Regions from separate parts of the Homo sapiens genome. Here region 1 is linked to region 2. Evidence: promoter capture Hi-C in human tissues and cell types (Jung and others, 2019). All regions are on one chromosome and are shown on one strand. Each heading gives the region's core, a stretch centred on a gene start or on the middle of the fragment in contact. The rest is flanking DNA. Distances are from core to core; before and after follow the strand shown.

What was found. Contacts are between HindIII fragments. The study calls those that stand out against the background at their distance.
Region 1: a contact is called between the fragment with the promoter of USP4 here and the fragment with the promoter of CELSR3 in region 2, in 1 of the 25 tissues and cell types used here (adrenal gland).

Annotation. Positions count from the first base shown.
Region 1 is chr3:49,337,574-49,341,668 of GRCh38, forward strand. It overlaps USP4 (ubiquitin specific peptidase 4), which reads right to left and starts at 2,480. Exons shown (of 22, transcript NM_003363.4): 1 at 2,351-2,480. The coding sequence starts at 2,451. RefSeq lists a silencer at 2,421-2,610 and enhancers at 2,651-3,150, 2,781-2,950, 3,041-3,100. The HindIII fragment of the contact is 25,899 bases long and covers 1-4,095 here.
Region 2 is chr3:48,660,279-48,664,678 of GRCh38, forward strand. CELSR3 (cadherin EGF LAG seven-pass G-type receptor 3) reads right to left here and starts at 2,608. Exons shown (of 35, transcript NM_001407.3): 1 at 1-2,608. The coding sequence starts at 2,356. It overlaps LINC02585 (long intergenic non-protein coding RNA 2585), which reads left to right and starts at 3,490. Exons shown (of 3, transcript NR_111921.1): 1 at 3,490-3,535. RefSeq lists enhancers at 331-917, 918-1,502, 2,614-2,803, 2,674-3,259, 3,574-3,933 and 1 more. The HindIII fragment of the contact is 20,539 bases long and covers 1-4,400 here.

The sequences.
Region 1 (4,095 bases), core at 1,230-3,729, 680 kb after region 2:
ACATACCACCATGCCTGGCTAATTTATTTTTTTATTTTTATTTTGTAGAGGCTAGCTCTTGCTATGTTGCCCAGGCTGGTCTTGAACTCCTGGCCTCAAGTGATCCTCCTGCCTCAGCTTCCCAAAGTGCTGGGATTACAGGCATGAGCCACTGCACCAGACCTGTTTATATTTTTAAAGTATCACTGTGCTGGCCGGGAGCGGTGGCTCACGCCTGTAATCCCAGCACTTTGGGAGGCTGAGTCAGGTGGATCACGAGGTCAGGAGATCGAGACCATCCTGGCCAACATGGTGAAACCCTGTCTCTACTAAAAATACAAACATTAGCGGGGCATGGTGGTGCATGCCTATAATCCCAGCTACTCGGGAGGCTGAAGCAGGAGAATCGCTTGAACCCGGGAGGCAGAGATTGCAGTGAGCCGAGATCGCGCCACTGCACTCCAGCCTGGTGATGCAGCGAGACTTCGTCTCAAAAAAAAAAAAAAAAAAAAAAAAAAAAAGTATCTCTATGCTGTTTTACAATTAAAACAATCTCTGTGGAGCAACAAAGCATCAACAATTATATTGGTGCATCCTTAAAATTTTATAACCAACAAATGTGAGAGGAGGTCAGGCAGCTTCCCAGAGGTCACAAGGATCCATAAACACATCCATCTCTAAAATGCTATTTTTCTTCCAAATCCCTTGAGCAATACCTTCCATACAATTTTACTGTATGATTTTAGTCTATCTTAAACTTCCTCTACTTCTGCTGAGTATTCTTTATGAACCCTATAGAGGTTAACTTAAAAAGTACCTCTGCTAGGCCGGGCGCAGTAGCTTCCGCCTGTAATCCCAGCACTTTGGGAGGCCACAGCGGGCGATCACCTGAGATCTGGAATTCGAGACCAGCCTGACCAAAATGGAGAAACCCCGTCTCTACTAAAAATACAAAAAAAATTAGCCGGCCGTGGTGGCGCATGCCTGTAATCCTAGCTACTGGGGAGGCTGAGGCAGGAGAATCGCTTGAACATGGGAGGGGGAGGTTGCCGTGACCCGAGATCGCGCCATTGCCCTCCAGCATGGGCAACAAGAGCGAAATTCCTTCTCAAAAAAAAAAAAAAAAAGAAAAGAAAAGAAAAGAAAACACAAAAAAAGTACCTCTGTTTACCCTGCCTTTCACAAACTGGTTAGCTCAAGGTGAATACATAAGCTGTTATCTGTACTCCTCCTAACCCCAATTTTTCTATTCTCCTGCTCAATTCCTCGGCAGATCATCACCACAATGATTTCTTAAAGATAGGTAACACTCGGGCCGAGCACGGTGGCTCCCACCTGTAATCCCAGCACTTTGGGAGGCCGAGGCGGGTGGATCATAAGGTCAAGAGTTTGAGACCAGCCTACCCAACATGGTGAAACCCGGTCTCTACTAAAAATACAAAAAATTAGCTGGGTGTGGTGGCGTGAGCCTGTAATCCCAGCTACTCGGGAGGCTGAGGCAGGAGAATCGCTTGAACCCGGGAGGCGGAGGTTGCCGTGAGCCAAGATCACGCCACTGCACTCCAGCTTGGGCAACAAGAGTGAAACTCCATCTCAAAACAAAACAAAACAAACAAGATGGGTAACAATCATACTCGATGCAAAGTCTAGCCTTAGTTTTTCTACTCCTACACAATTACACCACCCAGGAATCTCTCCAGTAGTACAAAGTATTGTCCCCTCTACTAAACAATCTATTAAGATGCCTAATAACTCAGCCTGGGTCTTCTAAATTCTGGACCCTTCATCTTCTATCTAGCTCCAGGACCTAGGCTATCCTCCTCTCCCACTCCAAGACACTGCTGCCGCAAATATTTTTGACACTTGCTACCAAAATAATCGGGGTTCTCAGACATTTGTTCAGCTTCTGACCTTGACATCTGTTGGCAGTTTACAAGTTACAAAGTATCTACTTCTGATTTTCCCCTCAACCCACTGAGGTCGGTGAGCCAAATATTGCTATCCTGGTTTTAACAGTGAGGAATCCAGGTCTGTGACACCTTCGCCCAAGGTCACACGGCGAGTCCTCATGGTAAAGGGCTCTCCCCACCCTTAGGGTCCCCACCAACCTTCCCCTTCTCCACATCCCTCCTCCTGGCCCCCGCCGGGCCCGCCCCCTAGGGCTCCAAATGAACTGAGACGACACTCAGGCCCCGCCTGCGCTTTCCCAGAGCTGATCCTGGAGTTATTCTCCTGAGGGGCAGGTGTCAGGCTACTCTTCCAGGGTCACTACATACCATCCCCGCCCAGCCCCTACTCTAGCCGAGAAAAAGGAGGCCCCTTTTTCTCGGCCCCTGGTTCTGCATAGAGGAAGAGCGAGCCGGGAGCTCACCACTGCGCCCCGCGTTGGAGTGTGGTCCTCATTAAGGGTCCAAGCTCGGACTTCTGAGTCTCCGCATCCGGTCGCTCACGGCAGCCTCCACCTTCCGCCATCTCCTCCGCGGCCCCGGCCCAGCCGGCCCGGACATCCGCCCCGCGCGCGGCGTGCTATAGACCGCGCCCACGCACGCACGCTCGCGTGCCCGCCCCTGCCCCACCTCGAGCCGCGGCCTTCGGCTCCTGCAGCCGCTGTCTTTTCTCCCCTCCGCTCTCGCGCCACCTAGCTCACCGGCGAACAGTGGAGCGGAAAGGCACACGCGAGAGGGGTGGGCGGGGAGCAGCAGCTGCTACTTCCTCCCGCCCTGCCGCCCGCTACGCGGCCTTCGGGCGCCCCTTCCTCTGCTCAGGATGGCGCTACACTTCGAAGCTCTGTTCAGCCCGCCGATCTCAGGGAGTTAGGCAGCAAGCCCACGACCCATCGGGCACCCCAGCCTGGCCTTCGAGGTTATCGTGGTCCTAAATAAATGCAGGCCAGGTGCGAGAAGCCCGGTAGTTAGGTCTGCTCATTCTCACCCCTGCAATTCCGCTTTCAGCTGGAGGCCTTAGGCGAGTCAGCTGCCCAAACGTGGGATCGGGGCTCCTGCTCCAGCGGCCCTACAGGGATTTCGGGAAGTACCATGTGCACCAGCGCCTTGGGACCAAGACTCAATGGTGTGTTGTAGTCATTAACAGTCGCCTTAAACAGTCGACGCCAGAGCCACCTGGCCCACCGCAGAATTCCGTCAGCTCTTCATACTGAGCTACTTGCCAAGCAGCCACAGAGGGGCGATAGCAACAGGGGAAGGAGAGGTACTCCACATTAGTTACCCAGGCGTGTACTTAGTTCCTGGAACAAGATACAACGTCCTGAACACTATGTTTTCCAGTCGCCCCGCTCACACACACAACCCTCCTCTTGGAGGGAGAAGTAAACCCAGAGGAAAGAGGAAGTCAGGCAGTTGGTCTAGATGCGTCTCCATACACTTGTCTAACAGTCCTTGTCCTCAGAGAAAAATAAGACCTAGTTCCTGCCCTCATAGAATCTAGTAGAAAAGAAGAGATGTTACAGAAATAACCTCAATGCCTAGCAGTATGTGGTAAGTGCCATTAAAGTGTGTGAACCAGGCCGGGCGCGGTGGTTCAAGCCTGTCGTCCCAGCACTTTGGGAGGCTGAGGCGGAAGGATAGGTTCAGCCCAGGAGTTAGAGACCAACCTCGGCAACATAGCGAAATCCCGTCTCTACAAAAAAATACAAAAAATAGCCGGGCAGTGGCTCGCGTCTGTGGTCCCAGGTACTTGGGAGGCTGAGGTAGGAAGATCCCTTGAGCCCAGGAGGTCGAGGTTGCAGTGAGTCGAGATGGCGCCACTGCACTTGAGACTGGACGGCAAAGTGAGACCCTGTCTCAAAAAAAAAAAAATAAATACAAATAAAGGGTGTGAACCGGCCGGGCGCGGTGGCTCACACCTGTAATCCCAGCACTTTGGGAGGCCGAGGCAGGAGGATCACCTGAGGTCGGGCATTCGAGACCAGCCTGACCAACGTGGAGACCGAAATGTCTTAAAAAAAAAAAAAAAAAAAGACCGGGCGTCCGGCGCGGTGGTTCATGTTTGTAATCCTAGGACTTTGGGAGGCCGAGGCGGGCAGATCACGAGGTTAGGAGTTCGAGACCAGCGTGGCTAATATGGTGAAACCCCTTCTCTACTAAAAATACAAAAAAA
Region 2 (4,400 bases), core at 1,358-3,857:
TGGCATCACGGTCTACTGCGGTCACGCTGACCACACTGGTGCCCACAGCTGCATCCTCATTCAGTCGTAGGTGGTACTCCTTCATTGTGAACTCAGGCCGATTGTCATTAACGTCCAGCACAGTCACGGTGACACTGGCTGAGGCAGAGAGTGGGGGTGAGCCATGGTCTCGAGCCTCCACACCAAAGAAGTAATGCTCCACAGACTCACGGTCCAGGGGACCACTCACAGAGACCCAGCCAGTGGCGCTGTTTATCACAAAAGGAGTATCAGGTGCCACACCAGTTAGGGAGTACTCCAATCTGGCATTCTCCCCATGGTCTGCATCGACTGCCTGAATGTGGATGACTGAGTGACCCAAGGGAGCATTTTCCAAGACAGAAACTTGGAAGGGCGTGCTGACAAAAATAGGAATGTGGTCATTGATGTCCACCACCTGGATGCTGGCCAGGCCCGTGTTGTTGGACAGCGGTGGCCGGCCAGCATCCTGCGCCCTGATGCGCAAGGCATACTCTCTCTCTGCCTCGAAGTCCAGAGGTGCCACCACCTGGATCTCGCCAGTGAGGCTGTCGATGGCAAAGTGTCCACGGCTATTGCCACTGATGATGTTGTAGTGCACCAATCCGTTGGCGTCCTTGTCCCGGTCAGTGGCCGTGACGCGCAGCACGACTGTGTGGGGGCGCACATCCTCGCGCACCTGCGCCACGTAGCGCTTCTCGCTGAACTGAGGAGCATTGTCGTTCTCGTCTAGCACAGTTATGTGTACGCGCACAGTGGCCGAGCGCGGCCCGGGTTCCTGGCCCTGGTCGCTGGCTTCCACCACCAGCTCATAGCTTTCCATGTGCTCGCGGTCCACTCGGCCGCTGGTGCTGATGAGGCCGGAGCGTGGATCAATCTCGAAGGCGGCGGCAGCTGCAGCGCGCGCAGCTGGCGGCCCCACGAAGCGGTAGCGCAGGTTGGCGTTGGGGGGCGCGTCGCCGTCAGTGGCACGCAGCTGCAGGATAGGGTAGCCCTCCTCCACATTCTCGCGAAGGGTCTCCCGGTACTGCGCTTGCTCAAAAACCGGCGAGTGGTCGTTGCGGTCGGCTACTGTCACGGCCACCATCGTGGTGGCCGAGAGGCGCGGCGACCCGTGGTCCTGCGCGGTCACACGCAGGTAGTGACGCTCCATGCTCTCGCGGTCCAGAGCTGCCGCCGTACGGATAAGGCCGCTCTGCGGGTCGATGCTGAACAGCTCCAGCGAGCGGCTGTTCATGAGTGCCGCCAGCGAGTAGACTAGGCGCCCGGCCTCGCCGGCGTCCGGGTCCTGAGCAACCACGCGTAGCACCGCGGTGCCTGCTGCCTCATTCTCCGGCACCAGCGTCTGGTAGTTGTACTGCGGAAACTGCGGGTGGCGGTTTGCGGCGCGACGAAAGCGTGCCCGGTTCGCCGAGGTTACTTTCCTGGCTTCAGGACGGGCCGGGAGTCCCGGGGGACGCGGCCCGGGGCGCTGCGGGAGGAAGCGGCAGCGGAAGAGACCCCGGGAGCGCATGCGCTTGGGCGCCGGCTCGGGAGCTGTCCGAGACTCGCGGGGTGCTGAACCTGATGCAGGAGCTGTCCTCGCCGTGCGTGGTGCTGAATCCAGCTCGGGGCCAGATCCCGAGGCCCCTGGAAGACAGTTCCGCCGGGGGGCTGTCCTTTCTGCTCCGGATGTCGTGGCTCTCTCGCCCTGACCCTTGCTCCCTGTTGCCCATAATTCCCCACAGCAGCGCGCGGTGCCCACTCTTTTGCGGGAGCCTGTCCCAGCGTTCCGCTGGGAGGACACCGGCTTGGGACCGTGGTGCCGAATCAAAAAGTCTGAAGGGAGGGGCGAGCTGTTCCCCGAGCCCGGGACCCCTGAGGACAGAGCCCCTGGTGACAGACTACCTCTTTGCAAAGGTCCTGTCCGCCCGCAAGAGGAGACCTCTGGGCGCCAGTATAACACAGACCCTGGTCCCTGTCCTGTCTCTCGTTCGCGGCTGCCCAATGGCTGGACGCCGTGTTCAATCCCCAGCTCCTCATTCGGCTGCTCAGGGGGCCCTCGACTATTCCGGGCGCTTTGCCTTCTCCCTCGGAGCCCCACGAAGATAGGCTCCCTGACCCCCAGGCCAGGCCCCCCATCCTCCCGGACCCCGGAAGACTCCGGACAAAGAGCTAAGGCTCCGCCACCGATATGCGCCCTTGGCCCCGTAGTGGCAGCTAAGCCTGGGTCCCAGCCCTGGTGCCCACCGCCCCCCAGCTCCTCCTGGCTGAGGGGGAACAAAGAGAGGAGAAGGAGCAGGAGTATGGGGGTCGACCGTCCCCCGAGGCCCCGCCACGGCGGCCGCCTCGCCATCATCCCCCGCCTCCCTGCACGGCCTCCACCGCCCCCCGCCCCGGTCCGGGCCTTGGGCTGGCCCCGCCGCTCGGGCCCCCTCCCGGGCCCCTGCCGCCGCCCCGGGCCCCCGCCCCTCCGCCTGTCTCTCCGCACCCCCGCCGCCCTCTGGGCACCATCTACTCCGCGGCCGGAGCCCCTCCGGCGTGCGGCCCTGGCTTTTTCCGCCCCCACCACAGCATCCCCGACGCTGCTGCCGCCTCCCGCCGCTCCAACATGGCTCCCGGCCGCCCCGATGGTTCGCTCCACCTCTGCCCCGGCGCCCGAAACACGGTGGTACAACCCATCGCGCATGGCAGCTCTGAGGACCGAAGATGTTGCCGCCATCTTTATTGAGGACGTGAGCGTTGCTCCTGGTGCTGAACAGAGCGCGAAGGTTCGCCGTCGTTGGGTCCGCCCTCCCCACTTTCGGTCGCCGCCTTCACCCACCTCCCTCCTTCTAGGGCGCTGTCCCAGCTCCGTCTCCCAGCCTTTTTCTGTCCTTCCAGATCTCTTGTTCCCCCTTCCTGACCACTAGTTCTGAACCGTGTCCCGGATTTTGGTCTGAAATTTTGGTGCCCATGAGCGTTCTCATAGCTCTGGGAGGGGGTACTGTGTGAAATCCTGGGGTAGAGGGGACGATGGCTGGAGAGGGGTCTGGGGTGCCAGCACCCCGAACAATAGCTTTAACTATCCCATCAGCTAGTTTTATGAAACATGTCGCGACCACCTGCTTGTTTGGATCGCCCCTGCGGAGCAGGGACCAGAGATGACCCTCCCGAGGCGGGAGCAGAGGCCAAATTCTTCCCTGCCTTGCTGGTCCCCAGCAGTCTCCCGGGCTCGGGGCCCCTTCACTGGAGGCTGCACCCCCTCCCAGGCTGCGAGTCCCGAGTGCTCTGGGATGCCACGTGGAGCCCGGCGTTGCCCCATGGCTGCGGGCCCCGCTTCTTCGGGTCCCCGCCCCTCGTCCGTCACGACCGCATGCCTTAACCCCTTGAAGGGACTGACACAGAAACTCAGTCCTCCCCCCACCCTCGGTGCATTCCAGCTCTCCCTGCGTAACTCCTGGCACGCGCCGGTCTCGCCAGGCCAATGGGTGGACCTGGCGCAACAGACGTCACGAGAGGAGCGGAGGCGAGGGGTGAACGCGGAGCACTCCAATCGGTCAGTCATTGTTTCTATTGGCACAATGGGAGGCCCCGCCCCTCACGGCGGACTCATCGCATGGGGGAGGGGGCTCCGCGGGTTGCCGGCTAACCGTGAGAGAGTCCGGGAGGTACACTATACGGACCGGCCTCCAAAGGCGGAATCGATAACGAGCTGCAGCGCCGGGTGCAGAGGACGCGGGCATCCCGAAGCCCAGGAAGAGGTCAGGGCCGGGACCCCAGAACGCTCCACAGGGTGCGGCTCCCGCGATGGGGTGGATCCTGGTTCTAACAGGCGAGGAACTCCTGGCCAAGGCCTCTGGCCCGCCCCGAACGGTCCCTATGACATCACCATCAACCAATCAGTCGGCGCATCCTTTCGCCCCTTGACTGCTCCGCTTCCGGGAGGCGGGGCTTCTGCGGGTTCCACCTCCCGAGCGCCCCTTGTGGCTACCAAGGTCAGGCAACAGGTGTCCAGTTGTTCCCTCTCCTGTCTACGAATCTGAGGACCTCCCCAGGATCAGAGCTCTGGGCCTGATACACGGCCGGGGTTCCTACGGGTTTGTGAGTGGGGGTGGAAGATCTGCAGAGGCACTTAGGGCTGAACTCCTTTGAATGGGAGCCAATCGGTGCAGGGGCTGGAGGAGCGAGTCCCCCAAAGTAGTTTTATTTATCTATTTAGAGACAAGGTCTCACTCTTTCGGAGTGCAGTGGTGATCACAGCTCACCGTAGCCTCGAACTCCCCAGGCGATTCTCTCACCTCAGCCTCCCGAGTAGCTGGGACTACGGGTACATGTCATCACACTTGGCTAATTTTTGCATTTTTTATAGAGACAGGGTCTCACCATGTAGGCCAGATTAGTCTTGAACTCCTGGGCTCAAG